Regions from separate parts of the Homo sapiens genome. Here all the other regions are linked to region 3. Evidence: promoter capture Hi-C in 16 types of primary human blood cells and fetal thymus (Javierre and others, 2016). All regions are on one chromosome and are shown on one strand. The core of a region is centred on a gene start or on the middle of the fragment in contact, and the rest is flanking DNA. Distances in the headings are between cores, read along the strand shown. Region 1 overlaps CDX2 (caudal type homeobox 2). Region 2 overlaps FLT3 (fms related receptor tyrosine kinase 3). Region 3 holds the start of RASL11A (RAS like family 11 member A).

What was found. The method cuts DNA at HindIII sites, captures the fragments that hold promoters and counts their contacts. A CHiCAGO score of 5 or more calls a contact.
Region 1: a contact is called between a fragment that was not itself captured here and the fragment with the promoter of RASL11A in region 3, in 3 of 17 cell types (naive CD8 T cells, monocytes and M1 macrophages). The highest score is 5.3, in naive CD8 T cells.
Region 2: a contact is called between a fragment that was not itself captured here and the fragment with the promoter of RASL11A in region 3, in 1 of 17 cell types (M2 macrophages). The highest score is 5.3, in M2 macrophages.

What each region holds. Positions count from the first base shown.
Region 1 is chr13:27,963,542-27,966,987 of GRCh38, reverse strand. It overlaps CDX2 (caudal type homeobox 2), which reads left to right. Exons shown (of 3, transcript NM_001265.6): 2 at 1,973-2,118. Among named protein-coding and RNA genes, the nearest start is that of CDX2, 4.0 kb to the left of the region's middle. RefSeq lists enhancers at 1-514, 515-1,206. The HindIII fragment of the contact is 4,180 bases long and covers 1-3,446 here.
Region 2 is chr13:28,046,001-28,049,235 of GRCh38, reverse strand. FLT3 (fms related receptor tyrosine kinase 3) reads left to right here. Exons shown (of 24, transcript NM_004119.3): 9 at 793-961. Among named protein-coding and RNA genes, the nearest start is that of FLT3, 53 kb to the left of the region's middle. The HindIII fragment of the contact is 4,034 bases long and covers 1-3,235 here.
Region 3 is chr13:27,268,910-27,272,125 of GRCh38, reverse strand. It overlaps RASL11A (RAS like family 11 member A), which reads right to left and starts at 1,296. Exons shown (of 4, transcript NM_206827.2): 1 at 1,058-1,296; 2 at 586-642; 3 at 408-487. The coding sequence starts at 1,181. RefSeq lists silencers at 896-1,125, 1,166-1,385 and an enhancer at 1,334-1,834. The HindIII fragment of the contact is 11,897 bases long and covers 1-3,216 here.

The sequences.
Region 1 (3,446 bases), core at 158-2,657, 690 kb before region 3:
GAGGTGGCAAGGCCGCAGTCGGCGCCGGGTGCCCTTGTGATGTTAATGTGGGGTGGCCGCAGCCCGCGGGCCGGAGCCGGGCTCCTCTGCGGAGCGTCATCTGTCAAGGTGTGGGGGTGGAGGGGGGGACGCGGCCTGGCTTGCTTTGATATACACCTTCCCAGCCCTGCCATTGTCTCTTTTAGGGCCCGGAAAGAGGGTGGTGACTTTCGCAGTCAATAATGAATTCTGACAAGTCCCTCTCATCCCTCCCCTCCATAGCCCCGCTCCTAGGTTCCCAGGGGGTGTGGGGCGCCTCCAAGGCCCTTGGGGCATGGGTCGAAGAGCGCTCAGGGTCTGGTCATCGCGTTGCCCGGCACGTCCGGGACACTGAAGGGGCAGCACCCGAGCAAGGGTCGCTCCGAGACACTTCCAGGCGAGTCTCCCTCCCGGGGTGTTCGGCTGAGGGAACTGCCCTGCGCCTCAGCTCCGGAGGTGTCCTCTGTGGCTCCAGCCAGGCTCCGGTGCCAACCCCGCCTGATACTATCTGCGTGACCCGGTCTGATTCTCCATTTCCTCATCTGTAAAAAGGGGCGAGTACCAATGGCAGCCTGGAGTGGGTTTGAGGCGGTCACGCGTGTCCGAGCGTCCACCGCGGAGAAAGTCGCGTTAGTTCCCTTTACTTTCATAGCAGGCGCGGGGTCGGGGCCGCAGCCCCATTCAAATGCGCCTGCAGGGTCGTGTTTATGTTAATGCGCCTGGCGGGGAGGGGGATGAAAGCCGGGGCCGCCATTTGCTCAGTAGTGGTAATTCAAACAGAATGTGGTTGTTATTAAGGCATTGAAAGGGCTTTTCTTTGATAAGATCGCCTTGTCCTGCATTGTTTGCGGCTGTGTTGGCCTTTCAGCGGCTCGGGGGAGCTCCCTCTGATCAGGCCTGTATCTTCCCAGGACGCTTTTGTTGTGGTTTGCAAAGGGTTTTACCTGAACAAAGTCAGCCTGCGGGGCATTAAACACCTCCAGGCAACTCCCAGGCCCTTCAGATCTTTCTGTGGGATTGGGCACTGGGCGATTGAACCTGTTCAGCTGCAAGAAGACCCAAAAGTGGGACGGAGCCAGAGAGAACAGCTTCTGGCCAGGGCTCTGCCAAGGGCTGAGCCAAGACAGACCTGGTGGAGACGCCAGGCTCGGGCCTGCTCCAACATTGTGGACACTATTTGTCAAGGCCCTTCAGTAAAACAATCAATCTGGGATTTAATATGTTGACTCAATCCAATGAGCATAGATCACTGGTCAGGATAACTCTGGCCGGATTTGCAGCAGGAATAAATGGAGGATCAAAAAAGAAAAAGTACCAAACGCCAAACCTGGTCTGGGCAGGTATAAAGTGTCCCCAGCAGGAGGGGTTTTCTGCCTGTTCCCTCGGCCAGAGCCCAGCTCAGAATTCCACCTGATGGGCCTGGTGTGTCTGGGGGATGATTCTGGCGACTTGTCAGCTCCTGAGCCCCGCTTTCCACTTGTAGTAAAGCAAAGTAGTAACCCCCACACCCCCTCTACAACATGTGCCCACAATGACAGCTGTTTTCGGGGTGGGCTTCCATCTCTGGTAGGCCTGGAAATCTGGATGCTTCCAGGATCCCGGCCACTTCACCCTGCCCCCTTTCCCTTGGTGTCAAATATATGCCAGTACTGTATTTGGTTTACCGAAAGGGTGGTTACATTCTGCTGTCTTCTGTGTGAATGAGGTTTTCACTTTCCTTAATTTTTAAAAACCACTTAATACCAAGGTTAGTTTAGTTGCCTCCACTAGCCTCATACCCTCCCCCCACAGGACCCTCTGGGGGGTCTTGTCAGACTTGGCAGGAACCAGCCAAACCCGGGCCCCCCAGGGTGGTGGAGGAAGAGAAATGTCCCTGGGTTAGGGAGGTTTGTCATTACCCATGACTGATGGGCTGCCTTGCAGTTCTCAGCCCTCACTTCTCCTTCCTCCACAGTGAAAACCAGGACGAAAGACAAATATCGAGTGGTGTACACGGACCACCAGCGGCTGGAGCTGGAGAAGGAGTTTCACTACAGTCGCTACATCACCATCCGGAGGAAAGCCGAGCTAGCCGCCACGCTGGGGCTCTCTGAGAGGCAGGTGGGGACCGCCTAGCTCCCTCCGGGCGGGCCACTGCCTGGCAGAGGACCATGAGAGTTAGAAAATCTGGCTGCAGGGGCCATCTAAATCTGTGGAGAGACTGAAGCAGGAGGATGCAAGCATTCGTCTTTGGAGTCCTTTTTTTTTTTTTTTTTTTTTTTAAACAGAGATGGGGTCTTGCTTTGTGGCCCAGGCTGGAGTGTAGTGGCACAATCATAGCTCACTGCAGCCCTGACTTCCTGAGCTGAAGGGATCCTCCTGCCTCAGTCACCTGAGTAGCTTGGACTACAGGCTCGAGCCACCATGACTGGCTAATGTTTAAATTTTTTGCAGAGATGGTCTCACTGTCTTACCCAGGTTGGTCTCAAACTCCAAATGCTCCTCCTGTCTTGGACTCCTAAAGTGCTGAGATTACCGGTGTGAACCACCATGCCTGGCCTGGAGTACATGCCCCCCCACCCGCCACCGTCGAAACGCAGTTTCACTCTTGTTGTGCAGGCTGAAGTGCAATGGCGCGGTCTCAGCTCACTGCAACCTCTGCCTCCCGGGTTCAAGCGATTCTCCTGCTTCAGCCTCCCAAATAGCTGGGACTACAGGCATGTGCCACCACGCCCGGCTAATTTTGTATTTTTAGTAGAAATGCGGTTTCTCCATGTTAGTCAGGCTAGTCTCGAACTCCTGGCCTCAGGTGATCCACCCGCCTCGGCCTCCCAAAGTGCTGAGATTACAGGTGTGAGCCACTGTGCCTGGCCCTGGAGTACTTTTTTAAAAAGCCTCCTTCTACCTTTAGTCCTCTTTTTTTGATGTTGTTGATTTTTTCTGTCTCTCTCTTTTGAGGGATATAAGAAGTGTGAAAAACAGCCAAGGGTATTAGTTTAATCCAGAATTCCATTTGGGTCTATAAAGACATATTAAAGACCTATTCTCTTTGTTTCCAGCACTGTACCTAAGAAAATAAACTGAATAAAGTACTCAGTCTCTCACAAAAACTAGAGGGACAAGACTTGGTTCATGAACATTTTATATATATAGTCTAGAAAAACAGGCCAACTTCACAGCCAGGAAGCCACAAAATTAAATCTCATTTTCAGCTCTAAGGTGAGGAAAATTACGTTTTAGTTTAGCCTTGAGGGGCCAAAGGTTGCCATTTGAAGTATACCACCCAGCACTGGCCTCCCTTTGCTGTGTAGAAAGGGCCTTGCAGTTTCAGTTTTCCTTGGTTCTGAGACTTTAAACTTTTGCAGTAAATACGTAGATAAAAGTTGCTTTGAAAAGAAACTCAGGGAGCAAGGAAGGAGGAAGACTCTTCCCCATGAGGCTGAATTGGG
Region 2 (3,235 bases), core at 101-2,600, 780 kb before region 3:
ATCTGCCCACCCTCTTCCTTTTCCCGTTAAACCAGGCTCGCTTGAATGCCACTGTCTTTGCATATAACACATTGTAATATGACCATCTGTTTGTGTACTTTTATCCTCCAGTAGACTGTAAGTTTCTTAAGGACAAGAACAACTCATTCTATCCTTGTAGTTCCAGAACCTGACACAGAGCCTGACACAAAATGGACAATAAATACTAGTTCTAAGAACCAACTAACCGCACTGTTAGGGCAGTGAGCACTGAGAGACAGTACAAGCCCTTAGATGCACTGAAATTTTGGTGGGGTATGTAGGATCTGAAAATAACCACAGTTCAATAATCTCAGATTAGGGCACAGCGTTCAGCCATAATGAAAATGCCGAGAAATACAGCGATGCTCTTAGCAGATTAATAAGGAAGTGTTCCATAAGGCAACCTCGTGAATATTGCTAGCCAGATCGCTCTTTTATTTGTGCCTTGAGTTTATTTTACTCTCTCTCATCAATGGAAGAGTGGTGCTGGCTGAGAGCAGGGGCCAGACAGTCAATTATCTACATCCCATTCTTTTTCTTTCCTTCTTTCTTTTTTTAAACATTTCTTAACTTCGAAAGATGATGAGCTCAGGCTTAGAACTAGGGATAGGACTCCTGGGTTTTCACTTGGATTATCCAACCTGACCTGCAGCATGCCAACACTTGAGTTTTCCTGTGTTAAACTGATGAATACAAGTTTATTTTATCTTCTCAATACGTTTCCCTATGAATATTATTAACTAACTCATAAATGCCTATTTTTTCTTACAGAAAAGGGATTTATAAATGCTACCAATTCAAGTGAAGATTATGAAATTGACCAATATGAAGAGTTTTGTTTTTCTGTCAGGTTTAAAGCCTACCCACAAATCAGATGTACGTGGACCTTCTCTCGAAAATCATTTCCTTGTGAGCAAAAGGGTCTTGATAACGGATACAGGTGAGACCACAAAGGACTCTAAGATACCATTTTTAGCATAATTCTCCTTGCTTGTCGCCCTTGAGAAGGACAGTTTTATACTTATGGAAGCAAATTCACTTATGAGTTTAACTATTATTGAGTTGAAATTGGAGATAAGAAAACAATAAGCAGATGTGAGGATACAGTAGCAGTCTTACCATTACTTTAGATAATATAACCTGCTGCATGAAAACAGAAAGAACCGTATTAGTCTGGTCTAGTTTGAGTCTGGTTCTCTGGCATTTTCTGAGTCACAAGGTAGTTTTTACTTCCTGTTTGAGAGTGCGGTGTGTAGGACACTGAGTCTCCCCTAAAACATTTGCAGATGATTGAGGAAGTAAAACTCCTTAAAAACAGAAAAACATTACTCATAGGTGTATTGATTTAAATTTTCAAAAAATACATGCAGAAATAGCCCAATAGTAAGTGCTGAAGGAAAATGTTGTTTTCCTCGGGATTTGTATGAGAAACTATGCAAGATTCTTTTTTTTAAGAACAACAAATTTTCTTTTCTTTTTCTTTTTCTTTTTTTTTTTTTTTTTGAGATGAGGTCTCACTCTGTCACCTAGGCTATAGTGCAGTGGTGCAATATTGGCTCACTGCAACCTCCACCTCCCAGGCTCAAGTGATCCTCCCACCTCAGCCTCCCAAGTAGCTGGTACCACAGGTGCACACCACCACACCTGACTAATTTTTTGTATTTTTGGTAGAGACAGGGTTTTGCCATGTTGCGCAGGCTGGTCTCGGACTCTTGAGCTCAGGAGATTCACCCTACCTGGGCCTCCCAAAGTGCTGGGATTACAGGCGTGAGCCACTGCACCCAGCCGAAAGATTCTCTTGTGGGAGGAATTCTCCATTCCTTCTTTGGAAAACAAAAAACAACTTTCCCCTATATCTTCTATAGTTATGACATCTCTTGTCTCTTTAAACTAATGCTATGGAACATGGTTTTGGACTAGGCTATGAGACACTGAGACGCACATGTTATCTTTCAAACAAGTCAATGGACTAGAATAAATCATCCTTTCTCAGCATGTGGTCTGTTGAACAACTGTGTAAGAATCATCTGAGCAAATGTTTAAAATGTGGATTCCTGGCTCCCATTCCAGACATGCTGACTCAAAACTGGGGCAAAACGCTCAGACTCTGCTTTTTTAATGAGAACCTTTGGTGATTCCTATCACAGGTCTAGATCTGTGCTGTCCGGTACGGTAGCCACCAGCCACATGTGGCTATTGAGAGCTTGAAGTGTGTCTGGTCCAAATTGAGATGTACTCTAATTGTAAAATACACACTAGATTTTGAAGACTTAGTATGAAAAAAAGAATGTAAAATATATTATTAATAATTTTTATATTGGCCGGGCTCGGTGGGTCACACCTGTCATCCCAGCACTTTATGAAGCCAAGGCGGGTGGATCGCTTGATCCTAGGAGTTTGAGACCAGCCTGGATAACATGGCAAAATCCCATCTCTACAGAAAATACAAAAATGAGTTGAGTGTGGTGGTGTACACCTTTAGTCCCAGCTACTTGGGAGGCTGAGGTTGGAGGATTGATTGAGCCCAGGTGGTCGAGGCTGCAGTAGCCATGATCACGTCACCGCACTCCAGCCTGGATGCAGAGCAAGAACCTGCCTCAAAAAGAAAAAATAATAATAAAATTAAAACAATTTTTACATTGATTATATATTAAAATGATAGTATTTTGGATATATCGCATTCAGCGAAATATGTTATTAAACTTAATTTCACCTGCTTCCTTTTACTTTATACAGCCAACAGAATTTGTAAATGATGTACAAGGCTTGAAGTTGTGACTCACATTCTGTTTCATTGGCTAGCCCTGTTCTAGATGAAGAGTAGGAGTTCTTTTCACCTTGATTCCGCTAAGTGTTTGTTTCATGATTATTGTTACTCTTTATACCTAAAAGGGATTTGTACTAAAAGTCCCTTGTTGGGACTTTTAGAATCTCAGTGCAGGGTTTGCATGGAGTTGTCTACTGTCTCTTACTGAAACCCCCCAATGTTCAGAGCATTCATTTTTAAAGTAATTAAGAATGCAGACTGGTCTGGGAGCTGACTGAAACACACTCCCCCAAACTCAGGGTTTGTCAACAGTGGCGCTGCTGGCATGTTGAGCTGGATAATTCTTTGTTGTGAAGGACTGTCCTGTGCACTGTAGGATACTTTTCAGCATCCCGGGTCTCCTCCCACTGGATGCCAGGAGCACATTCCCTTTTCCCAGTGTGACCA
Region 3 (3,216 bases), core at 47-2,546:
AGAGCTTGCCAGGGGAGAAGAGTCTCTCCCATCAGAATCCTACCTCTTTTTTTGTTTTGTTTTGTTTTGTTTTAAACGTTTTTTTCTTTGTTAATGGTTCCATGGCTACCTCCGGAAGAAATGGTGAGACCTGCTTAAGTAGTGATGGCCCACCAGGGTTGCAAAGTGAAGTTAAGTCAGGTGCTTAACAAGAGGAGGCTGCTTCTAACCATGCCTCCCCCTTAGAGAGTTTCTAACACCCCAACCACTGGCCCCACCTGTGGACAGCCCATTCCTCCCTCTAAACGCACAGGTCGGTTTAGATGCCTTGCTCAGACCCCTGCGCCCAGCATGGGCGCCCTACGTGCTGTGCCCACTGGGGTGGTCTCACGGGTGGGGGTGAGCTGTTTGCCCCTGGCGGTTCTTACCTGGACGCCCCCGGGAGTATCCTGGATCTGCAGGGAGAGCTGGTCCCCCTCGACATAGACCAGCCGTGAATACAGCTTGCCTGGAGAATGAAGTAGAGTTTGCTTTTTAATTCTCAAACTCCCATCCGTAAAAAGAAACACGCAAGCATAAAAGCAGGGAGCGTGAAAGTATTCTCACCTGTATTCGGTTCATAGTCTCCAATGAATCTCTTGGTCAGGAAGCGCACGATCATTGCTGAAAAGGAAATAGGAAAATCAACCGAAGGAGTAGAACAAGCCTGTCAAACCCAGGCACCTCGGACAAACTGGGGGGAGTGAAGGGTGCAGAACCGTGGGCACTGCTCGCTTCCAGAGGCTCCGCAAAGCCGTGGTGCCGCGGGCTTGGCCGCGAGTACGACTGGCGGGACACCTCTCCCGCACCCCATCCCCGAACAGGCGCCAATCCCGCCGAGATCCCAGGAGTAGATGCACCAGGAAACGCCAGGGAAGCAGGCCGGGACGGACCGGGACCCACCCAGCGCGAAAGCAGCCCGATTCTACCTGCACCCGCGCCCTCTGCTTCGGCCGAGGCGCCCTCTCTCCGCAGCGCCCCCAGTGGTCGCGGCCGGAGCCGGGGAGCGAAGCCGCCCGGGGGTCCCCGCCGCACTCACCGCTCTTGCCCACGCGGCCGGCGCCCAGCACCGCCAGTTTGATGTCCTTGGGCAGTAGGTAGTCCGAGGAGGACTCGGGGATGGGTGCGAGCAGAAAGTGCCCGGACATGCTGAGCGGCCGCATGGAGCGCGTCCCGGGGTCCGGCGCGCAATCCGAGAGGGCTGGGCCTCGCCGCACCCGGAGCCGGCTCGCCAGCTGGGAGTGCGGGACTAGAGGTCCGGGACCGCGGCGGCTGCCTGCAGAACTGTCAAGGCCCGCGGCTTTTAAAGGGCTTGGTGCGCCCGGGAGCGCGGCGGCCGTCCCAGCTCCTCCTCGTCTCCGCCCCTTCCCGGAGCGGCCGGGAGGGGCGGGAGCAGAGGCCGCGGAGCTGACTATCGCCGAGGCTGTGCGCTTCGCCGGGCTGCTAGCTGCTCGCGGCTCCAGGCGCTCTGCGGCAGGACTGCGGCTCCGGGGCTCAGACCCTGGAGATACGGCCACCGTCCAGAGCGCGCGAGTGGCCTCTAGTCAGGCATTCTGCGAGTCTCCTCGCCCCGCAGCAGCCAGCCGGAGTCACTAGACCTGTGGGTGAACTTGAGATAGGAGTTACGAGTTGACGAGAGAAGAAGAAAAAGTGCAATCAGTTGGATGTTTCTGCAACAATGGGACAGATTGCTGTAAAACGCTGCCCTTTTTATTTTTAAAAGGTGCTAAGGGGCTGGGCGCGGTGGCTTACGCCTGTAATCCCAGCACTTTGGGAGGCCCAGGTGGGCAAGATCATCTGCGGTCAGGAGTTCAAGACCAGCCTGGCCAACATGGCGAAACGCTGTCTCTACTAAAAATACAAAAATTAGCGGGGCGTGGTGGTGGGCGCCTGTAATCCCAACTACTCGGGAGGCTGAGGCAGCAGAATCGCTTGAACTAGGGAGGCGGAGGTTGCAGTGAGCCGAGATGGCACCACTGCACTCCAGCCTGGACCACAAGAGCGAAACTCCGTCTCAAAAAAAAAAAAAAAAGAAAGAAAAGAAAAGATGCTAAGGGGTAACATTAATATGGGAAAAGGGCGGGGGGCGGGGGGCAAGAGCTCTGAATTAGTATCAGTGGAGGCAACTGCAGTCACTGTGACCTTGCTAGGGATAGATGAAGTCCCCTTAGGGGCAGTGATGGTTAGCATCTCAGTATCCATGCCCAGCCCCTCCTCTGCAGGCAGGGGTTGCACTGGCTCATTCCTGAACACTCATGAGCACTCCACTGGCTGGGGGCCCTGGCCCTGCACTAAGTGTCCATCATTAATACTATCCTATGTGCTTGAGTCATGCATTTGCTTCAGTATCCAAATATTTACTTCTAGGTGCATGGTGGGGTCTAGGGTGGGGTGGGGGGCAGTGTGAGGAACAGGACACAGAGCTATAGACTGGTTCTTGGATTTCTGGAGCCCACCAGAAATAGCACAGCAGAAGCCTCAGGACTTTAACCTTGAACAGTTAGAAGACCTTCATGCCTCTGACCTCCTGTGTTCCAGCCTCACTTGCCTAATCGCCTATTAGACAGCCCCACCCTAATTCATACCTTTCTCTACCCTGGTTGTACCAGTTTTTGCTGCATGACAAGCCACACCAAACTAGATGGCTTAGAACAACAATCACTTACAGTTGTTGAGCCCTTTGATGCATCTGCAGGGAGCTTCCAGGTTCTGGAAGTGGGGGCTGGCTGCCCTTGGATAGCCTTACTCATGTCTGGCAGCTGTTGGCTGTGATGAGGGAGGGTAGTGACTGAGTTACATGTCTCTTCTCATTCAGCACGTTGGCCAGGGCCTGCCTTCATGGTAGCTGAGCAGAGTTCCAAGAGAGTGGGTGGAAATGGATAAGGCCTCTTGAGACCTAGGCCTTGAGAAGGAACCCATCCCTTCTGCTGCATTCTGTTGGCCAAAGCAAGTCATGGGGCCAGCCCATATTCAAGGAGTAGGGAAATACACTCCGCCCCTTTGTGGAAACAGCAGAAAAGTCACGTGTGAAAGGGCAAGGAAGCAGAGAGTGATGGAGAATGGGGTCCATTTTTGTAATTGACCATGCTAATGAATGTGTCTCCATCCACCCAGTGGCCCAAGCCTGGGAGACATCCTTGACTCTACCCACTCTCTCACTTCCACATTGATTAATCGCCAAGTTCCATCATTTCTCCT